3 separate regions of the Homo sapiens genome follow, and all the other regions are linked to region 1. The links are contacts of gene promoters, found by promoter capture Hi-C in blood cells and fetal thymus (Javierre and others, 2016). All regions are on one chromosome and are shown on one strand. The core of a region is centred on a gene start or on the middle of the fragment in contact, and the rest is flanking DNA. Distances in the headings are between cores, read along the strand shown. Region 1 holds the start of ARHGAP18 (Rho GTPase activating protein 18). Region 2 has its middle 12 kb from the start of L3MBTL3. Region 3 overlaps L3MBTL3 (L3MBTL histone methyl-lysine binding protein 3).

Region 1 (3,733 bases), core at 459-2,958:
GATCCAGAGGTGGTTGAGGTCATGGGGATAAAAAGGAGACAGCAAGTAAAGTCCTATGGAAGTGGAAATGGGAAGGTTGAGCAGTTGTGCAGGGGGGAGGGAGGAAGATATAAATTCCTTTTAAGGAAGACTTTTGTAAATTATAAGAAAGAGGGTTCAAAAATAAATTTCAGATACTTCTAGAGTATGTAAGGAGGAAGAAATTATTTTTCATGACTGTTTTAAATAATGATAAGGTATAAGCAATAAGTTTATGTAATGATGGAATTGGAAACTTGTTCAAGAGGAATTCTAGAGAGTTGAATGAATCATAAAAATCTAAAAAAACCTTCAGACTACTGGGTATGTCAGAGTAGAAGCCAGGCGTGGTGGCTCATGCCTGTAATCTCAATACTTTGGGAGCTTGAGCCAAGAGGATTGCTTGAGCCCAGGAGTTCAAGACCAGCCTGGGCAACACAGTGAGACCCTCCCTCTCCACAAAGCATAAAAAAATTAGCTGGGCGTGGTAGTGCATGCCTGTGGTCTTAGCTATTGGGGAGGCTGAGGCTGGAGGATTTCTTGAGCCTGGGAGGTTGAGGCTGCAGTGAGTTACAATCACCACTGTACTCCAGCCTGGGTGACAGAGTGAGACCCTGATTCAAAAACAAACCAAAAAAGTGATTTTTTTTTTTGGAGGGGAGATGGGGAGAAAGAACAGAGCTGTCTTTTGTGTTTATGATAATTTTGATCTTGTTTCTTAATCTGCAAAACAAAGAAGAGCATACTGGTGAAAAATAAAAGGAATGTAGCCTAGAATTCTGTTCAAATCCAGCTTCTGGCACTAGCAACTGTGTTATCTTAGTGAAGTTACTTAACTCGTCCCTCAGCCTTACTTTCCTTGTGTTATGTATAACACAGATGATAGTGATACCTATCTTGTACGGTGTGTGTGTGTGTGTGAGAGAGAGAGAATTGAATGGAATGAGATAATACATGTGAAACCCCCGTCCATGAGAGCTTGGCATATAGTAGGTGCTCAACAAATGGCAGGGACTTCTCTTGTTCTCAGCAATAACACTTAACAGAGCATTGGTAGGTCTATCCCTTTTTGGTGCTGAAAAATATTTTGCTAAAACAAGACGTATATTTGAGATTGGCTTTATGTGAAAGACGACGACATTCCAGGACACACAATTTTTATGAGGGCATTTTTAACCGGACACAAGGATCAAGCCTTTCTCGTCGTCTGGATTGCAGAGTTTTGCCGCGGGTTCGTTGTTTTTTACTATGGCTAATTTTAACGCTGAACATGAAGGGGTTAAGAAATGCCTTTACTCATGTTACATTAAGTAGCAGAAATTATAAGATAGAGGAATTGGGGAGGGAAAAAAAAAAGCCTTGGCAGCAACTCATGGTTTCCTAAGTAAGACGGCTTGTAGTTACAGTGATGAGTTGAATATACGTTCTGGCAGTTTAATCTGATCAGACTAACTTGGGGGTGGGTGCAACCCGTCGCTTCCACCCTTCGCCTCCTTTAACCAAAGCCGCCCAGAGTGCAATTGTCCAGAGTTGAAACCATGCTGTGAGTTGCAGCTTCTAATTGGAGAGGCAGGAAGCCCTTCCCTGGACAGACCCCGCCCCTCCCCGTGTGAATCGCCAGCCTGCGGGGAGGAGCTGGCCAATGCTAATGAGCGAGTTGCCAGGCGAGACAGGAACTTCTTTCCCCTTCTCTGTGTCAGGATCGCAGAAAGTATGTCCCTTCTCTCACCATGAGCTGGCTCTCCAGTTCCCAGGGAGTGGTACTAACAGCCTACCACCCCAGCGGCAAGGACCAGACCGTCGGGAACAGCCATGCAAAGGCAGGGGAGGAAGCCACCTCGAGGTAAGCCTTCGGAAGCTGAAAACAAAACAAAACCCTCTTACCTGCTCCAGGAAGAAAGTGACAGGGAAGTTGGCGTGGGGAGAAGGGAATTCCATCTGCACGTCGAGCCTGAGCTCGTGCAGCAGCAGTAGCAACGTTTGGCGTGATTTTTATGTACTTTTCATCTCACCTAGTCCAAGTCTGAAATAACCCATATGATTACTGGTGAAGACAGAGAAGAAGGAACTGGGGAGAGGGCTATATGGGCTGTCAGACTAGCTATTTAGCAGGTGCATTTGCACATGCTGAAAGATCAAATAGGTCTATCTGAAACACTTCCTTTCCTATGAAATGGAATTCTTGAATGGGCTCAAGGCACTGCCACTGGAACTGTTCGCTGGGAAAGTCTGCCAAAAAGCAGGGAGGCTGTTCACTGTACTGTACAAGCTGTTGTTGTTAGAGTGTTTTTTTTCCCCCCTCTCTTTGCTGAAAGCAAACCTCTTAGGCAAAAAGCCCAAGACACTGGCCTGTGGCAATATGTTTCACATTCTTTTGTGTATGTGGATTTTTTTTCCCCCAGGCTTTCAAAAAGGAGTTTTTGTCAGGAGATAGCACTCTGCTGCTGGAGTGAAATGTGGTTAATGTTAAATCACTTTATAGGCAGAGAGGGCAAATGTTCTATAGACCACTGAGGCGCAAAGGGTACCTTTCTCCCTATCTGTGTACTTTGTTCCATTTTCCAAGGGCTTTTTTTTTTCTTTCTCTCCTTAATGACCTTCTCACTAGCTGAACATTTTTACCTCCATCAAGATATAAATAGTAAATATTGGCCTAGAAGATTGCAAGAAGCAAATACTAACCTAATAGCCTAGAACACTAAATTAGTTATCGGTAAGCACATTTCCTCCTCAATGCTTAATGTGATAATAAAACCTTCTTTGTTCTTATGTGACTTATGCCTGTGCCTTAAGCTGAAATAATGCTGCCTTTCATTTGTTTTAAAATCTCCAAATATGAGGGAGGGAGAAAAATCAAAGGAATGGCTGTAATACTCAGTGTTAGACTCCCAGCTGACGGGAACTGTTTCTCACATAGCATCCACAGTATGTATTTCATTGAATGAATTCATTTCCAAAGATAAAAAAGATTTGGTGCTTGTGCCTTAGCTGTGTTACCATTTCATTTTCCATCATTTTAAATGACTTAATGTTAAATCATTAAATCAAGAGATCTTGAAGTGTTTTCATCCATTTTTCTGTAATGTATTAGTAATCATTAAGCAGTAAAGCAGCCTGCAACACCAACCCCATACCCAGCCATAACTTGGATTCCACATGTCAGTCAAAATTGCCAAAATTATACAAGCTCAGGACATTCTCCGACTTTAGGCTGAATGGCCTGAGGACCTGAGCTGAATCTTGGATCTTGATTGTGAGAATGGAAAGGACCTTAAGGACTGAGTCCTAACCTCTCATTTTCACGTAGGACTCAAACCCCAGGGATTAGTTAAGTTTTTGGAAGGTCTGGAGTTCTAGGCCTTTGTCTGGGGCTGCATCTCCAGTTCTGGAGACTCATTATTCTGTGTTTGCAGTGTGGGTGGCCCATACTTGAGTGGGTTGAGAGAATAAGAGAGGATCAGATCATTCTCTGCCTAGGCTGAAGCAGAACCAAGAGGCACTAAGGTGGCAGGGTGGGCAGCTGCCCACACGGCAAGTGCCCTGTGTGGGGCCACAGCTCCAGGTGAGCTCCTTTGCTGGCTGTCACGTAGCCTGCCCATACCAGACCCAACTTCCCACCACTGAATTAGTTCTAGGGATCGTTCCTGATATTGACCGGAGAAGATGGGAGCCTGGTTTGAGGGCAGGGAGGAAGGAGGGAGTAGGGCTAGTTTTC
Region 2 (4,025 bases), core at 500-2,999, 300 kb before region 1:
GGGGGAATGGCTTGAGAGGCCTAGGTTGCAATGAGCCGAGATCGTGCCATTGTACTCCTACCTGGTGACAGAGCCAGACCCTGACCCTGTCTCAAACAAACAAACAAACAAACAAACAAAAATAAAAATAACTCTACTCCCTCCTGGTACTATTTCCTCTGCCACTGCCCTAGTTTGTCTCCTGCCAAGATTATTACCGTATATTTCTAACTACATCTTCGCCATTACAATTGTATTCCTCAAGTATAGTGTTGGTAATGTTGCTTACCTGCTCCAACCCCTTTTAAATGGTTCCTAATAACTTCAGAAAAACTTTTTCTCCTTGGTATGGTACTTAGTGCCCTGCAACTTCTGGAACAGATCAACCTTTCCATGTGCAGCCCCAACCCATGAGTAAGCCACACCAGGCAAGCCTAGTGCATTGTCATTCTTCTTTCCTTTTGTTCATGTTATTTCCTGAACTTGGAATGCCCTCTTTCTGACCACTCTTGATCTATCCCAATTTCTAGCTCATTTGAAAAGATATTTGTACATTCATGTTCATAGCAGCATTCTTCACAATAGCCAAAAATGGGAACAATCCAGATGTCCACTGATGGATGAATGGATAAACAAAATGCAGTTATATATATCCAGTGAAAACTTTATTATTCACCCTTAAAAAGGAAGGAAACTCTGACACATGCTATAACGCGGATGGACCTTGGCGACATTTCAGTGAAATGGGCCAATCAGAAAAGGACAAATATTGTATGATTCCACTTATATGAGATAACAAGAGTAGTCAAATTCATAAAGACAGAAAGTACAATGGTGTTTGCCAGGGGCTGGAAGCAGAGAGGAATGAAGAGTTATTGTTTAATAGGTCCTGGACTTTCAGTTTTGAAAGATTTAAAAAGTTCCATAGATAGATGGTGATGATGTTTGCATAACAATGTGAATGTACTTACTGCCACTGAACTGTACACTTAAAAATGGTTAAAATGGCAAATTTTATGTCTATTTTTCCACACCTCAAGCAATTTAAAAATTCATCTTTATTGGCATCTATTAAGTACCAGGAACTGTGCTGGGAATTAGGAATACAAAAACAGATAAAATGCTGCCTGTTCTAGTGGGCATATGATTTAAAAGGGCTCAAATTCACCCTTTATATGAAAACTTCAGGTATGCGCACTTGAAATTTAAAGCTTTCTTCTGTCTCTATATCTATTTTAGCACTTGTCACATCCTGCTCTGTATTGTGTCTGGTCCTTGTAAACGTTTGTCTCTCTTTTGAGATAATAAAATACCCTAAGGTCAGGAGCTCTGTCTTATCTATTCATTTTTTAATCTATCAAAGCACTTAATACAGTTCATTGCACATAATGGGAGCTCAATAAATACTTATGGAGTAGAACAGAATGGAATGGAAGTGAACTCCAGCCGTCAGTGATGTTCTGGGCCCAAAATGACACCACCTGATAGACAGTTCTTCCTCAGAATGGTTGTACTGACCAGTGAATGGCATTCGTCAACAAAAAGATCAAAGGAAAGCCTCACTTCAACAACACAACTACATCACTCAATACCAAGTACACAAACATATTGTGGACTCTGTTCATGATCCTCAGTAAACATGACTATCATCTCATATCTGAATTAATTTTCCAAAATTTCAAATTTAAAGCCATGATTTAAGCATGGATGGATGGGTGGGCTTAGGTACCATCCAGCCCACTTACAATCAGAGCTGTGAGCCAACCATTAAGAGTTTTGTGTGAAGAGAAACAGCCACCAATAGTTGGCTTCTGTCTGTGGCCCACTGGAATTTGGAGGATTATATCTCATAGCTGGTTTGACTTTGAGTACATAGCAATAATCAGCACAAATAGCACTTTGAAATCTATACCTTCCTAACCTCTGATAACCCTTTGATTATAAATCATCTAGGTAGCAACAGACATTTAAGCCTGTCCTTTTGAGTGTCAGGGATTTTTCCCCTTATCAAATTGGGATTTTTCTTTTCATTTTCAAGAACAGAGTTCTTTCTTTTGCTTTCTAGATGAGGCATAGGCCCCTGATGCTTAATAATTATAGTTAAACTGTACTGAGTGACTACTGTGTGCCAAGAACCATGCGAAGCATTTTATATGCATTATCTCATGTTTTTTCTTGACAACCCTATGCAGTAGCAAAGTGGCTTTCTTTTGTGTGGGCCTGTCTCAAATCCCTCTCCTTTGTTTTCCTTAAGAACATCACACTTTCCCTTTAGGAGACTTCCTTTCTCCTTCCACATGGTCTTGGGGTCTGTCCATTCTCAAGCTTCCCGACATCAAGGAATGGGCAGGTGATGAGAATGAGGCCAGTTAGAGTCTGTCAGGAAAAATCTTATCCGTGGGATAAGGAACAAGGGTGGATGTAGGCAGATTATTTCAAAGCTCACTCCTCAAAATTCCTCAGTGATACCCTCACGGTCACCCTTGTGCCTATTATCCCTAAGGCCTGATGGTTTAGCTTTTCCTTCAATTCCGTGACATGTCTAATTTTGCTTTTTTTTTCTCTATCTAACATTAGCTAGAATCAGTTTCTTATAAACTATACATCTTCCCAATAAGGCAGTATATAGTTTTCTATCACTATGCAGCAAATTACCACAAAGGTAGCTACTTAATGCACATTTATGATCTTACAGCTTCTACGGGTCCGGGCTCTGGGCATAGCTAAGCTGGGCCCTCTGCTCAGGGCCTCACAAAGTTGCAATCTAGGTGTCAGCCAGGTCTCCTCAGAGGTTTGGAGCCCTCCTGGATGGCGTGAGAAAACCCAAGGTTGTCCCTGAATAAGTGCATTTTCTAGAAGACACAAGATCAATCCCAAAGGGAGGATCATAAATGGTAAAAGAGTAAAGGAGTTCGCAGAAGAGGCTATAATAAAATCTTACCAAAATGAGAGGGTGAGAGACGAAGTCTTCTCAAAGGAAGTGAATAGGATTCTGCTTTACAGAAAAGTGAGGAGTTGCCAGGGAACACAGAAGAAGTTTCCTGATGCTCTAATTTTTAGTGTTGGGGTCCCCAACCCCCAGTATGTAGCCTGTTAGGAACCGGTGCCCAGCAGGAGGTGAGCAGCAGGCGAGTGAGCCAGCAAAGCTCATCTGCATTTACAGCCACCGCCATTGTTCATATTACTGCCTGAGATCCCCCTCCTGTCAGATCAGCAGTGGCACTGGATTCTCATAAAAGCATGGACCCTATTGTGAACTGCACATGTGAGGGTTCTAGGTTGTATGCTTCTTATGAGAATCTAATGCCTGATGATCTGTCACTGTCTCCCATCACCCCCAGATGGGACCATCTAGTTGCAGGAAAACAAGCTCAGAGCACCCCTGATTCTACATTATGGTGAGTTGTATAATTATTTCATTACATATTACAGTGTAATGATAATAGACATGAAGTGCACAGTAAATGTAATGCACTTGGACCATCCCAAAACCCTCCCCCACTGCCCTCCTGCCCCACAGTCTGTAGAAAACTGTCTTCCGCGAGACTGGTCCCTGGTACCAAAAATGTTGGGCAACTGCTGCTCTCACTTTTTCCTGCTCATTATGAGCTAACACATAAGCTTTTTTATAAATAAGAGATGGTGATAAATTACCCACACCTTCAAATTCCATTTTCTTTGGTTGGCCTAAGAAAGTTTGGAAACCAAGGAAAAGAAATACATTTTGTTCAAACTGTAAATCCCATCTCTACTAAAAATACAAAAATTAGCCAGGTATGGTGGTGTGTGCCCTGTAATACCAGCTACTTGGGAAGCGGAGGTGGGAGGATCACTTGAACCCAGGAGGTGGAGGTTGCAGTAAGCCAGGATCACACCACTGCACTCCTGTACTCCAGCCTGGGCAAAAAAGTGAGACTCTGTCAAACAAAAAAAAAAAGAAAATAGTACCTTAATAGTACCAATAGTACCATCACTGGGCTACAGCGTGTATAAACCAGTTTACTGATCACTACTTTTCTTATGTGATTAATCCTATTGCTTCTTGG
Region 3 (4,075 bases), core at 722-3,221, 310 kb before region 1:
GAACACAAAACAATGATTTACAGTATATATGGGAGAAAGAATAATAATGCAGAAGGCATTTTACTGTTACATATAATATACATATCATTCTTATAATCACCATCCAACTAATCAATTCCAAGTCTACTCAGAAAGAAACTACAGTTTATGAGGAAAGTTCCCTCATCCAAGATCACCCAACTTAACTTTACTCAAGTTCCTCTCAAAGATCCTTGTTCATTCCTCCAAACTATCTTGTCTCCCAAATGGGAATTTTCTAAAGGTCTTTCCCAATTTTACTTCATAAATCAAGCTTAGTTATATATCAAGGATACCCTTTCTTGGTGCTTCTTTTCATCCACCCACTGCATAGCTGCCACAGTCAATACAAATCCGTTCATCATTTCCCACTATTGACTTACATCCACAACCACCAATGAAATAATTTAATACAGTAAAGAGATAATCTGAGAATATTCCTGTTAGATAATGAAGCCCTTTAGAAAATATATCTTCCATGGATCCGCTGAACTTCAAGATGTCACATATAAATGTGCACCCATATGAACATATAAATAGTTCTCTCTAAAGACACTATCTTTACCTATACTATAAGCATTCCCAAATCCTTGTGAGGAACAAATCCCTCAATAGTGGCAAGTGGTAACAGTGGAAGATAGTGTAGATCTTCACCAGAAAGTTACCTTGTGAACACACTGGTCAAAGAAAGAATCGCCTCAATCCATCTTGCTAGACTCTTGCTAGACATTCCTTGACTGTGGGTGAAGGGCTTCTTACTCATTTCTGAAGGCGAAGCACTAAAAAAGGAATGCATTATATTGTGCCATGTGTATTGGATGATATGCCATGGTCCTGCATCAGTTAGCCCAGAAATCCATGTTTCCTGGTTCAACAGCTCCAAAGAGTGCTAGAGCCCTCATCCTTTCCTAATGGTACCATGTGCAACTGTTATACTATTATTAGAAGAGCTCATTATGTCTAGTCCCAGAGTAAGGATCTCTAGAACTCCTCAAGAGCAAGGATCTCGTCTTTTAAGTGTTCAACACCATAAGAGCTCAGAAAAAAACTGGTTAAGTAACTAGTAGAAACAATACCGCAGGGATCACTCAAGTTATCCATCCTTGGGATGCCAACGGTACATCCCACCCACCACATAAAGTAAGTTCTCTCATAAATTCCCCATCCTAACTGCACTACTATAAACAGCATTGGCTGAAATATGGAATTCTTAAAAATAAACTACCAACCCAGTCAAAATTCTTTAAGAATCAACTCTCAATTACTCAGGGACTAATTAAACAGGACATATACTTCTTTTTTCCACTCCTATTGGGTTTTTGGATTCTTAGAACATTGATTGGATAATCTCCAAAGAGTGGAGATGAAGTAAAACTAAAACCTGTCAGGGTTTATTTTGTCAGGTTCAGTAGCATCAAATCAAAAATAATAATAGATAGTACTTACAATTTTTTTAATCTAGATTTTACATAGTTGGCTATAATTAGATTGCAGCCAAAGAGGTCTAGAAAACAAGGAGGAAAAGCCCTACTTGGACATTTCCTAAATTCAGTCATTCGGAGGACTCATGTTCTGGCCCCTATAGTTAGTTTAAATCATTACTACTCCAGTTACCTATTTTCTCATCCTCATCTCCCAGCAGACTCATGCAACTAAAATATTAATTACAGTACATTAATTCCCCTCACACCAACCCTTCTACTTTCATCACCCTACCATTTTCACAATTAGGCATCATTTTAAAGTATTTCTTTCATTTACTCCTTCTACTTATTAAATGACTAGTTTGGGATAAATAAATTTCCGGTTTTGTATTCCGCACCATGTTAGAGCATGGTCTCTTCCCTCAAAGAGCCAATAGTATACAAGGGAAACTACTTTTTTCTCAAGACAAGATATACTCCTAGAAATATTCCGAGAAGTCCATACAATACACACATCAGAAACCAATCTAAAAGTTTTAGCCAAGTGTTAAATCACTATATTCTGACTTAGACAATCTACCTCCAGCCCTTCATAAAGCTGGACGAAGGTAAAATGATATGACCACTATACATCTGAATAACTCTTTATGGTTCTCAAAATCTGATTTTATTTGATTCTTTTAACAAAAGATGCAAGGCAAGTATTGCTGTTCCCGCTCTGTAGATGAGGAAATGGAGGCTGAAGGAGGTAGAGTGACATATACAAGGTGATATATCTAGTTATTACATTTAGTCTTCTGATTCCTATTCTAGCATTCTATCCACAGACACAGTGACTCCGCAGACAAAGAAAAATAAGCAGTGTCTTCAACTCAGCACATTTAAACATGAAATTCACCATCTTAGGAAACTGATTTTACTCTTCTTGAACCCTAGTTGTCTGCAGGACCTTCCTATAGCTGTTCTTGCCCCATTGTCTCTGCTGCATATCCACATGGACCAGATCTACTTATTTTGCTAATTATACAATTCAAAATGATCCACAAGCAGCAAATGACAATAAACTCCTGTTAATCATTTTTATATCAATAATTAGTCATTTTGATTTCTAGATTACACCTGGCCCAATGAAGGTTGTTAGTTCTGCTCTAAAAAGGTAGGCTAATTTTGGTTTTCTTTTGTTTTTGCCAAACAAGATTTAGCGACCCCTTTATTACTCAAGACAGAGAGGGCAGGAAAACAGGCAGAAAAGGAGAGGGGAAGATTAAAGGAAGAAAAAAAAAGGTATAAACAGTAGAAAGCACTGGAGTAGCAAAAATGTACTGAAATGTTCTACCTTCAGAGATGGCTGTCCCCTCTGCCTGAGAATGACCTTTGCCCTAAAAGAAGGACCTGGAGTATTGGAAAGAAGCCAACACCCTCCAAAATTACTAAAGAGATCTTAGTAGACAACAGCTGTATTCCCTGTGGAAGTATGTTCAAAAGTTGACAAGTCTAAGCTAACACACTGAAACTCACTCATAACCCTGCAACATGGCACTTGGCACAAGTCAGCCCATCTTGGATTTAAGCCATAGAAGTTATGTGACAAATACCCCCAAAGCACCCAATGTAAATTTCATTCACAAAATTTTACCACTGGCCCCCCAAGACATTTAGAGTTCCAGAATCTTCCATATCACTGTATAACAATGTAACACTTATATTAATTTACAATCATTTTATTCCAGTTTTTCCACTTTTTCAACTCCAAAGAATAAAACATTTACTTTCAGTAGAAAACAGGTGCTAAAATGCTAATTAAGAATCTAGTAAGTAAGGCAATACAAAGATTATCCAGGACAATCTCCTAACTTCCTAATGTTTCATCCAAACTACAATTACATTTAGTGTCAATACATTCATGCATTCAAAGCAGCCCCACAAAATGATGTTTTTCTGCCAACCCAGTCTCATACTCTCCTTCCTGATCTCCAAATGCAGCTTTTTAACATTTGCAGGTATGTCAAGCAATTTATTTCAACAAGTGGGTCTTACCTTTCGGCGGTGATGAAACACAGAACTCTCTGGCGATCTTCACAATTGCTGTCCACTCTCAAGATTTCTCCTAAGGGTTCTAGCATTGGTTTAAAGAGAGGGAAGGTAAAATCAAAACACTGTCATCAAAAAGAAACCTTCAAATCCACCATCCCCAGTTAAGAAGCTTACATTCTGAATCACTTAGGCATAATTTTACACCATGCCACTCGGTAAATTAAAATAAAATAAGCTGGTTCTAGATGAGTTGAAATGGATTTTAATCATTCGTATCATTCCCATGTCCTAAATTCACCCAATAACGTCTCTCCTGTTGTATATGACAGGCAGGTGAAAGTTACAAGGATCATTTGAGTCAACTTTAATTTCCCTCACTGCTTTTATCTTTAAAATTAAAGATATTTTACAGAAAACACACTGGAAAAAGAATAGATATTACATAAAATTTTTGCCCATGTATTTAAGGACTTTAAATCACAAATTATACAAGTATTCAGAAATAATTTCGTACTCAGTGAAACAAAATTACAGTCTTAGAACCAAAAGGGACTACTTACTCGGACTATACATAACTATACAGCTAAGAAACTATATAA

The links. Contacts are between HindIII fragments. The CHiCAGO score rates a contact against its expected background, and 5 or more counts as called.
Region 2: a contact is called between a fragment that was not itself captured here and the fragment with the promoter of ARHGAP18 in region 1, in 2 of 17 cell types (naive B cells and neutrophils). The highest score is 6.1, in naive B cells.
Region 3: a contact is called between a fragment that was not itself captured here and the fragment with the promoter of ARHGAP18 in region 1, in 13 of 17 cell types (neutrophils, naive B cells, naive CD8 T cells and 10 more). The highest score is 11.7, in neutrophils.

Annotation. Positions count from the first base shown.
Region 1 is chr6:129,708,152-129,711,884 of GRCh38, reverse strand. ARHGAP18 (Rho GTPase activating protein 18) reads left to right here and starts at 1,708. Exons shown (of 15, transcript NM_033515.3): 1 at 1,708-1,861. The coding sequence starts at 1,749. RefSeq lists a silencer at 1,355-1,434. The HindIII fragment of the contact is 10,321 bases long and covers 1-3,733 here.
Region 2 is chr6:130,005,064-130,009,088 of GRCh38, reverse strand. No RefSeq gene overlaps it. Among named protein-coding and RNA genes, the nearest start is that of L3MBTL3, 12 kb to the left of the region's middle. The HindIII fragment of the contact is 1,114 bases long and covers 1,193-2,306 here.
Region 3 is chr6:130,021,710-130,025,784 of GRCh38, reverse strand. It overlaps L3MBTL3 (L3MBTL histone methyl-lysine binding protein 3), which reads right to left. Exons shown (of 23, transcript NM_032438.4): 2 at 3,480-3,558. Among named protein-coding and RNA genes, the nearest start is that of L3MBTL3, 5.2 kb to the right of the region's middle. The HindIII fragment of the contact is 3,353 bases long and covers 295-3,647 here.